4 separate regions of the Homo sapiens genome follow, and all the other regions are linked to region 3. The links are contacts of gene promoters, found by promoter capture Hi-C in blood cells and fetal thymus (Javierre and others, 2016). All regions are on one chromosome and are shown on one strand. Each heading gives the region's core, a stretch centred on a gene start or on the middle of the fragment in contact. The rest is flanking DNA. Distances are from core to core; before and after follow the strand shown.

What was found. Contacts are between HindIII fragments. The CHiCAGO score rates a contact against its expected background, and 5 or more counts as called.
Region 1: a contact is called between a fragment that was not itself captured here and the fragment with the promoter of KDR in region 3, in 1 of 17 cell types (neutrophils). The highest score is 7.9, in neutrophils.
Region 2: a fragment that was not itself captured here is called in contact with the fragment with the promoter of KDR in region 3 in 1 of 17 cell types (M2 macrophages); the score reaches 5.3 in M2 macrophages.
Region 4: a contact is called between a fragment that was not itself captured here and the fragment with the promoter of KDR in region 3, in 1 of 17 cell types (neutrophils). The highest score is 5.6, in neutrophils.

The regions. Positions count from the first base shown.
Region 1 is chr4:54,552,718-54,555,417 of GRCh38, reverse strand. No RefSeq gene overlaps it. Among named protein-coding and RNA genes, the nearest start is that of LINC02260, 53 kb to the left of the region's middle. The HindIII fragment of the contact is 9,142 bases long and covers 1-2,700 here.
Region 2 is chr4:55,733,334-55,736,033 of GRCh38, reverse strand. No RefSeq gene overlaps it. Among named protein-coding and RNA genes, the nearest start is that of EXOC1L, 85 kb to the left of the region's middle. RefSeq lists a cis regulatory region at 1,807-2,172. The HindIII fragment of the contact is 3,160 bases long and covers 1-2,700 here.
Region 3 is chr4:55,124,336-55,127,035 of GRCh38, reverse strand. It overlaps KDR (kinase insert domain receptor), which reads left to right and starts at 1,441. Exons shown (of 30, transcript NM_002253.4): 1 at 1,441-1,809. The coding sequence starts at 1,743. The HindIII fragment of the contact is 11,417 bases long and covers 1-2,700 here.
Region 4 is chr4:54,329,922-54,332,621 of GRCh38, reverse strand. No RefSeq gene overlaps it. Among named protein-coding and RNA genes, the nearest start is that of LINC02283, 1.6 kb to the left of the region's middle. The HindIII fragment of the contact is 1,358 bases long and covers 746-2,103 here.

The DNA.
Region 1 (2,700 bases), core at 11-2,510, 570 kb after region 3:
TTTTTTCTGGTTTTTAGAAAGTTTTAATCCGATTACCAAAAAAATGCACATTGGAAATTAACAAATGTGTGACTAAGAAAAGTATATTTAATCCAACTATTGAGATAATCATCGTTACACATTCTTCTAGAACTTTCCTTGAAAATAAAAATAAATAAATGTATATTTCAGTATAATTTGGTACCCATTCTTCTAGGCCTTTTCTCTGAAAATACTTACACACAAAGACATATATATTTCATATATAATTTGGTATACACTCTTTTAGATTTTCCCCTTCATATTATACATTTACTTAATAGTAATGAGTGACTATATTATATATACTCTTGCAAACTTGCATTTTTTATCTAAATGCCTTAGAATGTCTTTCTCCACAGAACATGGATCTGTTTGAACACCTGAATGGCATTTCATTGTTAGTACCATCAGGCATCTATCAGATCGCATCATGACAGACATGGGGGATATTTCCAGATTTCTGCTTGTCCTCTGGACACTGCAGTGATTGTGGAGGCCACAGCATTGTGACACTTCTCTTGAGCCTCCCATTTCCTTGCCATTGCCCCAGCTCCCTGGAGCACCTGCTGAGTGGCTCTGGCGTGTGTTCCCTGGCCTTCTGGGCCTCCATACTCTCACCTCTCCAAGGAGGGTGGGAATTCTTGCCAACTTCTTCCCTCAGGGCTGTCGTGAGCACTAATGAGATCATATTTGCTGAGCACTTTGTGTTCCCTCAATAACTGGTGATACATAAATATGAATGTTTTCAGTTCCAACAGAGTCTTTGGATTCCTTTCAGGAAGAAGTGAGGGCCTATTTAAAATGTGTGTGTTGGTATAAATACTACAGCGAGTCCTTTGTATTCTACAAGATGCTGCCGAGAGTGGAAAGCTCGTCCCATTGCCAACATCAGGGGGTCAGGTGCAGGTTACTTCCTGCGTCCTGGTGGCCAAGTGGCCAGGGAAACAAGAGGTTGTGAGGTGAGGGCTGCACGTAAGGATGATATCAATCACCCGTGATTTTAGGCAGAAACATTCCTTTTCTGGCTTTCTAAGCTGTTTTCATGCTTATCTACTCAATAGCCAATCACCGAGTGTCTACAATGTGCCAGGGAAGAAGCCGAGTCAATCCAGCCAGGAGGGCACCGTTTCTACCTTCAGAGGCTTGCCATTTAATGTACAACCCAGATAGCATCTGTGGCCTCATGCCGTTTGAGAGAGAGGTAAGAGCAGGGTTCCAATTCCCAAATCCATGCCCCCAAAAGTCCGCAGGCCTCCAGATGTTGTGCAAGCCCATCATTGAGAATTTGTGTGGTTGGACCAGTGGTTAATGTTAGCCCCTACCTTTAGCTCCACAAGCCCCCATCGCCCCAATGTATTTGCGAGTTTGAACAGCTTAACTAAACATTGTGGAGGGGGGTGGTGGGAACAAAATTTACATCACAGAACAGCAAAAATCTTCAGATGATGACAACTAGCACTTAAATGGTGCTTACTTGCCCTATGACAAGCTCTGATGGAAGCCCTTGGCGTTGTTCACTTACACAACTCTCCTGATAATTCTACGAAGCAGATACTATCATTATCCCATTTTGAGAAAATATGGGACCATGTGAAACTAAATTTTCTCATCTTTAAAATAGCAATACTGAGGGCTCCTCTCCGTATCCCTTCAGCCCTCACCACTTCAGCACACGCTGGCCCAACTTCCCGCTGCCACCATAGCTTTGCCTGAGAGCTTTCTCTGCCCTTGTGTGGCAGGCAGGACCTGCTGGGGAATTACTGTCCCCTGGAAGTGACCCTCAACCAATGACAGATGGGAGTTGGCATACAATGGCCCCAGCTCCCTCACCCCTTGAGTGTGATAATTCAGAGGCATGATTCTACCTGTGTCCCCAGTTTCCCTGGAGGGCTTACACTCCAGCTTCCACGCTGGTAACTTGCTTAGAAACATACGCTTCTTGGCCACTTCCCTTTCCATCTGACTTTTCCATTCCCTATGCATATTTCCTGAAATCACCTCAGAAAGATCTACCCGCCCTCAAATGGTTATTTCGGGTCTGCTTCTGGCGAAAGAGACCCTAAAATGCTGATGCATGTGGCAAGGTCACACAGCTCTCTGGATTCAAATCCAGGGAGTCTTACTTTGCAGTCTACAATATTTCCCATTACATCACATGGTCTCTCAACTCCAAACTGAATGTGAAGCATGCCTCTTAAATGTATTCCTCACCGCAGAGGAATGTACAAGGCCCTCAATCCCTCTCTTCCAATAAATATTGTAACAGCTACCATTTTTCTAGTGACAGTTATTTGCCAGCCACATGCTAACTGTGTTACTTGAACAGCCTCATTCTAATATCACAACAAACCTGTAAGAGAGAAACGTTCTTATTCATCTCTGCTTTCTGGATGATATAACTGAGACCCAGAGAATTGAAGTGGTTTGCCCAAGGTCGCATGGAAACAGAGCCAGGATTTGCACACATATCTTTCTGGATCCACCCATATCCTCACCTAGTATACTACATACCATAGTGGAAAATGTGGTGCCAGGCACTTTATGGCCAATATGTTAGTTCCCTATTGCCGTTACAGCAAGTTACCACAAACCTAGTGCCTTAAACACTGCAAATATTTTATAGTTATCGGAAATCAGATTTCTGTATGTCAGAAATCCAACACAGGTCTCTCTGGGCTA
Region 2 (2,700 bases), core at 58-2,557, 610 kb before region 3:
TCCTAAGTTCAAATTCTGACTGCCCCCCTTCTTAAGTGTGTTATTTTGGCAAAATTCATTTCTCTTTGAACTTCACTTTTCTCTCCTATATAATAAGGCTAATTCCTACTTTGCATGGTTGTTGTGGGAATTAAATAAGATCATATGCTTAAAGCACCTAGGTTAGTAGGCTGCCTATCAATTTCAGTACCTTTTCCTTTCCCTTCCTTACCTTATTCCTGTGCTCTAACTCAAAATTGTACCCCAGTGCCAGTAACAGGGATGCTGCTGCGTTCCCCTCAACTTTACGCCTACCTTGGTAATCTGCTTCCAAATCTTCCTGATGCTGACCACTGGCTGGATCTCTACCATCTTGTTACTTTCAGTTCCCTGTCGGCCCATGCACTGCTGGGATAACCACCTGATGTGTTTTTTTGTACCTCTTTGGGGCTAGTTGCCTGCCCACCTTCTTGAATGGCTATCCCTGACAACTGGGTATGTCCACCACTCCCCTTGACCTAACAAAATCCCCCTTCCTGCTGCTGGGTTAGCCATTCCCCAACCCCCAAATGTTACCCTGCCTCCAAATCACCGGGCCTGATGCTTCAGAAAAGAGCTGTTCAGCTGCACTGTGCATAGTATCTCTTTGCCACCTGCACATGTTCAGAAAGGCTGTGATTTTTTTCCAGCTTTTATTTTAGATTCAGAGGGTATATGTGTAGGTTTGTTGCAAAGGTGTATGGCATGATGCTGAGGTTTGGAGTATGGTTGAATGTGTTACCTAGGTGGTGAGCAGAGTATCCAATAGGTAGTTTTTCAACCATTGCCCCCCTTCCTCCCTCCCCACTCTTGTTGTCCCCAGTATCTATTGTTCCTATCTTTATGTTCATATATACCCAATGTTTAGCTCCCACTTATATGTGAGAACACATGGTATTTGGTTTTCCATTTCTGTGTTAGTTCATTTAGGATAATGGCCTCCAGTTGCATCTATGTTGCTGCAAATTATAAAATTTCATTCTTTTTTATGGCTGCATAATTTTCCATGGTGTATATGTGCCACATTTCCTTTAGTAAATCCACCAATGATGGGCATTAAGGTTGATTCCATGTCTTTGCTATTGTCTCTATATTTGTTGTTTTTTTGTTTTTCAAAAAGAGTATGATCTAAAAAGAGTGACTGACCGGGTCTTGCTCTGTTACCCAGGCTGGAGTTCTGTGGTGTGATCATAGCTTGCTGCACCTCAAGCTCCTGGGCGCAAGCAATACTCCTGCCTCGGCTTCTTAAGTAGCTGGGACTACATGCACATGCCACCATGCCCAGTTAATTTTATTTAAGTTATTTTTTGTAAAGAAAGGGTTTCACTATGTTTCCCAGACTGTTCTTGAACTCGTGGCCTCAAGGGATCCTTCTGCCTTGACCTCTAAAAACACTGGAATTACAGGTGTGAGCCACTGTGCCTGGCCTTGCTATTGTGAATAGCGCTGCAATGAATATACAGGTGCGGGTCTTTTTGGTAGAATGATTTATTTTCCTTTGGGTATATACTTGGTAATGGGATTGCTGGGTTGAATGGTCATTCAACTCTTCTTTGAGAAATCTCTAAACTGCTTTCCACAGTGGCTAAACTAATTTACATTCCACCAATATATTCACATTGAGTATAAGTGTTCCCTTTTCTCCACAGCCCTGCCAACATCTGTCATTTTTTGACTTTTGAACAAAAGCAGAAAGGCTGTGATTTTTAAAGTGGAGCTGGGAAGTGGTCTGTCTGTCCAGATAGAGACTGCTGGTCTCTGCTAGTACAGCTTGAAGATCAGCAAGCATGCCACCTGGGGCATTGCACCACCATAAAACCTGTTTCTTTCCAGGCAGGAGTCCACCTAAGGCAGCATTGCCACAGCTGTAATAGGAAGTCTGAAAGGTGAGGTGAGGTGTTCCAGGGGAGACCGAGTAAGAAGCTCTGTATTTGTGTGCATTTGGAGCAGGTAGTCCAGGCCAAAGGCCCCAACGCAGTGAGTCATATGAGGCTGTACAACTGGAAAGCTGCCAGCTGGGCACACCCATTAGGATACATGTTCCTGCAGTGGCTTAGCAGAACTTTCCTATTAATATTTATTTAAATACCAACTCTACAGTTTCTGGACATAACTTTATATACCATCTTTCTGAAACTGTTTTTATGCCAAAACGAGTCCTTTAGAAAGTCCATTTATCTGAATTACTTTTTATTCTTCAAACTTATACAGCCACAAATGCTTCTTCTGTTAGGAAGAATTGACTGTTTTGTTAACATTTAGCTTCATGTGGGTTTTACATTAAATTCTTAAAATCCAAGGCTATAAAATTCTGAGAGAATAAACGTATCTTAATAGAAACTTTGCAAATGCGCCACTTTATTAGTGATGGAAATGGTTATGAAAATCTGCTGCTTTTCATAGATAGTGCCAGTTACAGATAGAGAAATATTGTGGTAATCAGCATTTGATCAAGCTCTGGGTTCTGTGAAACTGATTCTTAATGCAAATTTTATCTCGAAAACTTTAGTCTGCTCTCCTAAAATAGCAATAGCCATTTTGAGCCATGGACTAAAATGCTTATGGTCCCAAGGATCCTAATATCATAGTTTGTAGGGAAGTCAGAATATGATGCTTCAACTTGCCAAAGCTGTTTCTTCTTAATCACCTCCAAAAAAGTTAAATTATTAACTGTGCAATTCA
Region 3 (2,700 bases), core at 192-2,691:
GGGAAAAAAGCCAAGGCTCAAATAGCATTTATACCAAGCAATTGTGGGAAGAGAAGGGTGACATGTCTACATACTTGTGTTTAAGAATCTGCTTGGAAAAAAAAGGAAACATAAAAATGCCTCTGCCAAAAGAAAAGTCTTTTCACTCTAAGCCTTTTTGTGTTTTTCCAAAATTTTTTTTTGCCATATACATTCATTATATTTCAGCATTAAAATATTTCACCTGTCAACTTGGAAAAGTAAAAGCGTGAATACAGTAAATATTTAAAAACAGATGAAGATAAGTAACAGGTTACATTAATTGTATACAATCAATCTAGTTTGAATTAGGTGTAGATATAATAATTCTGTGTGTTTATCTTGGTGAAGAATGGTCCTTTAGGTTGTCATTAAAAAGCACCTCTGGGAGGTAAAAGACATAGGCATCTGGAAGATTCATATTTAATGAAGTTAGGGGACATTTGATGTCACTCCCCAGGTGTGGGGAGATATGGACAGAAAACCAGAAGGAACGAATGTGGTCAGGAAGGAATTGGAGTTCCCCTCCAAACAGCTGCCACAAGAAGTCCACACACGTGGAGACAGTTGTGCAATTTGGTCACAGAGTGTCCTAGGTGCTTTTGCTTCATTGCTCCTCCACTGAAGCACGCTGGCAGCTGGCCTCCTTCCCCTGGGACTAAGGATATCTTGGCTGGAAGCTCTGCTCTGAAAAGGGGCATGGCCAAACTTTCACTAGGGCTCTTCGTTGGGGAGCACGATGGACAAAAGCCTTCTTGGGGCTAGGCAGGTCACTTCAAACTTGGAGCCGCCAAATATTTTGGGAAATAGCGGGAATGTTGGCGAACTGGGCAAGTGCGTTTTCTGATTAAGAGCAACCAGATTCAGCTTTTTAAACTACAATTATACTGGCCAAACAAAATACCCTTATACAAAAACCAAAACTACTGGCAGGAGTCGCTGCCAGCTTGCGACCCGGCATACTTGGCTGAGTATCCGCTTCTCCCTTGTGGCTCCAAACTGCTGCAGATTCTCGGCCACTTCAGACGCGCGCGATGGCGAAGAGGGTCCTGCACTTTGACGCGCCTGGTGAGGGAGCGCTGCTCTTCGCAGCGCTCCTGGTGATGCTCCCCAAATTTCGGGGACCGGCAAGCGATTAAATCTTGGAGTTGCTCAGCGCCCGTTACCGAGTACTTTTTATTTACACCAGAAACAAAGTTGTTGCTCTGGGATGTTCTCTCCTGGGCGACTTGGGGCCCAGCGCAGTCCAGTTGTGTGGGGAAATGGGGAGATGTAAATGGGCTTGGGGAGCTGGAGATCGCCGCCGGGTACCCGGGTGAGGGGCGGGGCTGGCCGCACGGGAGAGCCCCTCCTCCGCTCCGGCCCCGCCCCGCATGGCCCCGCCTCCGCGCTCTAGAGTTTCGGCACCAGCTCCCACCCTGCACTGAGTCCCGGGACCCCGGGAGAGCGGTCAATGTGTGGTCGCTGCGTTTCCTCTGCCTGCGCCGGGCATCACTTGCGCGCCGCAGAAAGTCCGTCTGGCAGCCTGGATATCCTCTCCTACCGGCACCCGCAGACGCCCCTGCAGCCGCGGTCGGCGCCCGGGCTCCCTAGCCCTGTGCGCTCAACTGTCCTGCGCTGCGGGGTGCCGCGAGTTCCACCTCCGCGCCTCCTTCTCTAGACAGGCGCTGGGAGAAAGAACCGGCTCCCGAGTTCTGGGCATTTCGCCCGGCTCGAGGTGCAGGATGCAGAGCAAGGTGCTGCTGGCCGTCGCCCTGTGGCTCTGCGTGGAGACCCGGGCCGCCTCTGTGGGTAAGGAGCCCACTCTGGAGGAGGAAGGCAGACAGGTCGGGTGAGGGCGGAGAGGACCTGAAAGCCAGATCTAACTCGGAATCGTAGAGCTGGAGAGTTGGACAGGACTTGACATTTTGCGATCTTTCATTTACCAGTGGGGAAACTGAGGCTCAGAGACTGGCCCAAGATTACCCAGCGAGTCTGTGGTCGCCTGTGCTCTAGCCCAGTTCCTTTTCTAGGACTCTGGTTTGCGACAGGGACCTCGGCTGGAGCATGTCCTGAGATGCCGACACACCCTCAGGCTCTTGGGAGGCTGGGGTGGGAAGGCGCCTGGGGTTGGCAGGCAGGAGGTGCCTCCGCAGGCGAGAACAGGCGGTGAAAAGTTGTCTGGCTGCGCGCAACATCCTAGTCCGGGCCCGGGGAAGAAAACCTTGCCGGAATCTCAGGCCGGGTCTCCCGGATCGGACGGTACACTCGGTTCTGCCTCTTTGCGGGACCCGGCCCGTTGTTGTCTTCATGCTCGAACACACTTGCACACCACTGTGTGAAGTGGGGTCTGGAGCGGAGAGAAACTTTTTTTCCTTCCTTGGTGCAGGACGCCGCTCTCCTTGCAGAGCGAAGAAGGGGGGGAATAGGGACTTGTCCTGGGGGCTTTGACAGCTTCCCCAAGGGTCTCCAAGTAACAGCCAACTGTCCTGCGTAAAGCATTGCACATCTTTCAAAGCGCTGTGGTCCTTGGTGTAAGCGCATAGTCAGAAGTTCAAGCTCCGAAAACCTTTCCTGTGGGCCTTGGTACCTAGCTTTAGTGCCATTCCTTCCTCTCCCTGCCGCCTAAAATTTCCGTCTCCTTCAATTAGGAACACACACGTTCTTCATGCAATAGCTGTCTGTCTTTTCTTCCTCACTTTC
Region 4 (2,700 bases), core at 175-2,674, 790 kb after region 3:
AAAAAAACAATTCCATGGCCAGATGAGTTGGGGATGTGAGGGTTAAAGAAAAACAAACAGGTTTCTTTCTCCAGATCTCAAAGCATTTACTCTACTCACAGGCAGTGTGAATCTCAACGAGGGCGCGGAAGCCTGCTGCATTTCCCAAGCTTGCGCGGACACAGGGAGGAACACCTTGAGGATCCAGCATCTAAGAAACATACTTTGGAAAATGCAGCTCCAGAATATTCTCTTTTGTGTCTGCTCAAGGACCGTATAGCATATTCTCCCAGATATTTCTAGGCCAAAGGAAGTCATTCCCTCCCCTTCCTTCTCATGCCTGGAAAATGGTAGAATTGAAGAGAAATCCATGGTTGGGCTGGAGGGCTCCCTGTACACAGAGGCTAGGGTGGGGGTGGGGGGCTTGGTGCAGAGAAGGGAGAGAAGGCAACGGACCCAATAAGAGACACCAATTATGGAGGACTTTTGCTGCTTCCAGCACTGGGCTTGCAAGGGAATTATTGAGTAACACCTGCAGTTGCAACCAAGACGGAGGTCAGCTCCTAAACAGAAGGCTCCACGACTCAGTTTCATGGTCACTTTCCTGACATGCAGTAGAAATCCCAGGCTTTTCCTGTTTCCTTTTCTTTGTGAATCCCTTCTCCAGTGTCTATGGGAGTGAGGCGGATGAAGTCACAAAGGCTCTGAGGTTCAGCCTTCTAGGATTACTTAGGCTGTTCAGGTCCCTCCACTTCCTCCCCAAGCTTCCTCCTCTAATTTCCTTAGGCCACTCCATTCTTCCATCCTCTAGTGCAATGGTTCCCAACCTTGGCTGCACATTAGAATCATCTGGAGGTTTTCTGTATGTGGTTGTTTTAATCTCAGTGGCCAAACCTCGTCTCAAATGGATGAAATCAGAAAGTCTAGGACTGAGACTCAGGCACCAGCATTTTTATGGCTTCCCAGGTTATTCCAATTTGCAACTTTAAAAACCGTCCAAGGGTAGAATTCTCTCATTTAGCAACATTGGTCTCCCAGGAAGCAGGTTCCTTTTCATCGGAAACCCAACTCATTCTTTTTTTAAGCCAAAACTCTTCCCTCTAGAGTACCCAAATTCTAATTTACTGGTGTCTCTCATTTATGACCAGATAATTTTCTGGAACCATCATGTTCTGTGCTCTAGGGGATCCAGCTTCACTTCAATTTCTCTGAGCATCTCCACAGTCCATTACTGAGTGTAGTTCAAAGGCAGAACACAGTGCCTACTTCCAACAGGCTAACTGCTAATGAGCATTGGCTCTCCATCATTCTTGCCAATTCTCATGTTCTTTTACTACCCCCAATTTCACCATCTTGGTGCCATTAACCCACATTTCTGCTAGGCTAGAAGTAACTCTCCCCACCCACTCCAGACACTCATCTCCTACCATTTCTCTTCTCAGAGAAGCCTAAGTCCGTAATATAACTCCCCTGCAAGGTTTCAGTCAGTGCTTAGAAGGCTGCAGTGGGCTTCTCTCTGGAATCTCGGGAGATGAACAAAAAATGTCACCTCAGCTAAAATTGAAACTAACGGAATCAATATAAAACAGATGAGGTAGCCCTTCTGCCCTCTTCTAAATAACCTCCCTTAAAAGATGGGCTTCTAAGGCTGGTACAAATGAAAGTAAACCCAACCAAAAGATCAGATGGTTAAAATAGAACTGTAGACCTGAGATGGATTTAATGCAAGAACAGCAACAACAACAAAATCCAAAACAGAGATCGTTAAATGGGGGGAACAAGACTATTTATTTACTTATTTATTTATTTATAGAAATATCCATCTTTAGTTGACTTTGGAAAAAATAAATATTTATAGAAATAAACTTTCATTGAACATATAAATTAATATACAAATAAATTTTAGTGCATGTATATAATTTATAAATAAATATATATGGGATTAGCACTCCCCAAAATGTTTTTGGAAATTACTGTTCTAAATAATTGTGTTCTAAAATTTCAGCATACATAAAAGGCTAGTGCTCAACTTGGAATGAGAAGAAGGAGATGGTGAAAATGGCAAGAGGTGGTCAGTGTTTATCCAGTACTATTGAGAAGCAGTGTCATGACCAGAAGAAAGCTTATCAGGCATATATGGAAGCATGTCCAACTGTTATGGCTTAAATGTCAATTCTTTAAAGTTATCCGGTCCCTTATGCCTGCACTGCAAGGCAATTATCTGATAGTAACCTGACATCTCCTGTACTCTTCCCTACAGGAAGGTCATATGTAAATCAGCCAACTCTGGCCTCCAGGTCTGTTTGGAAATATTATAAAATTATAAATTAGCTTCCTGGTTTCTAAGGTGGTTTGGGTTTAGGTTGGGGTTTCAGTTGAGTTTGATGTGAGTCAGGCCTCCTGAGCCTGATCACCTTTGAGGGAATGTCAGACCCTGAACCTCTCAGGTTCTGCCTGGATCACCATCATTACAAACCACTGCAAGGTACTCTCTAAGCCTCTGTCTTTGGCATTACCTCAAGTGTCACTCAACACATATATAATTTGATTTGTCTGAATTCCAGAGGGAACAGGGTTTCTTAGTCCACCTATGTTTTCAGAAAAGGGAAGTAGGTCTCATTGTTAGGAGCTTAGTAGTAAAACCTCAGATGCTAGGGGACACACAAAATGTAGTATAGGAGGAAACAATCCAAATGTTCATATCTGATAAATGGATAAACA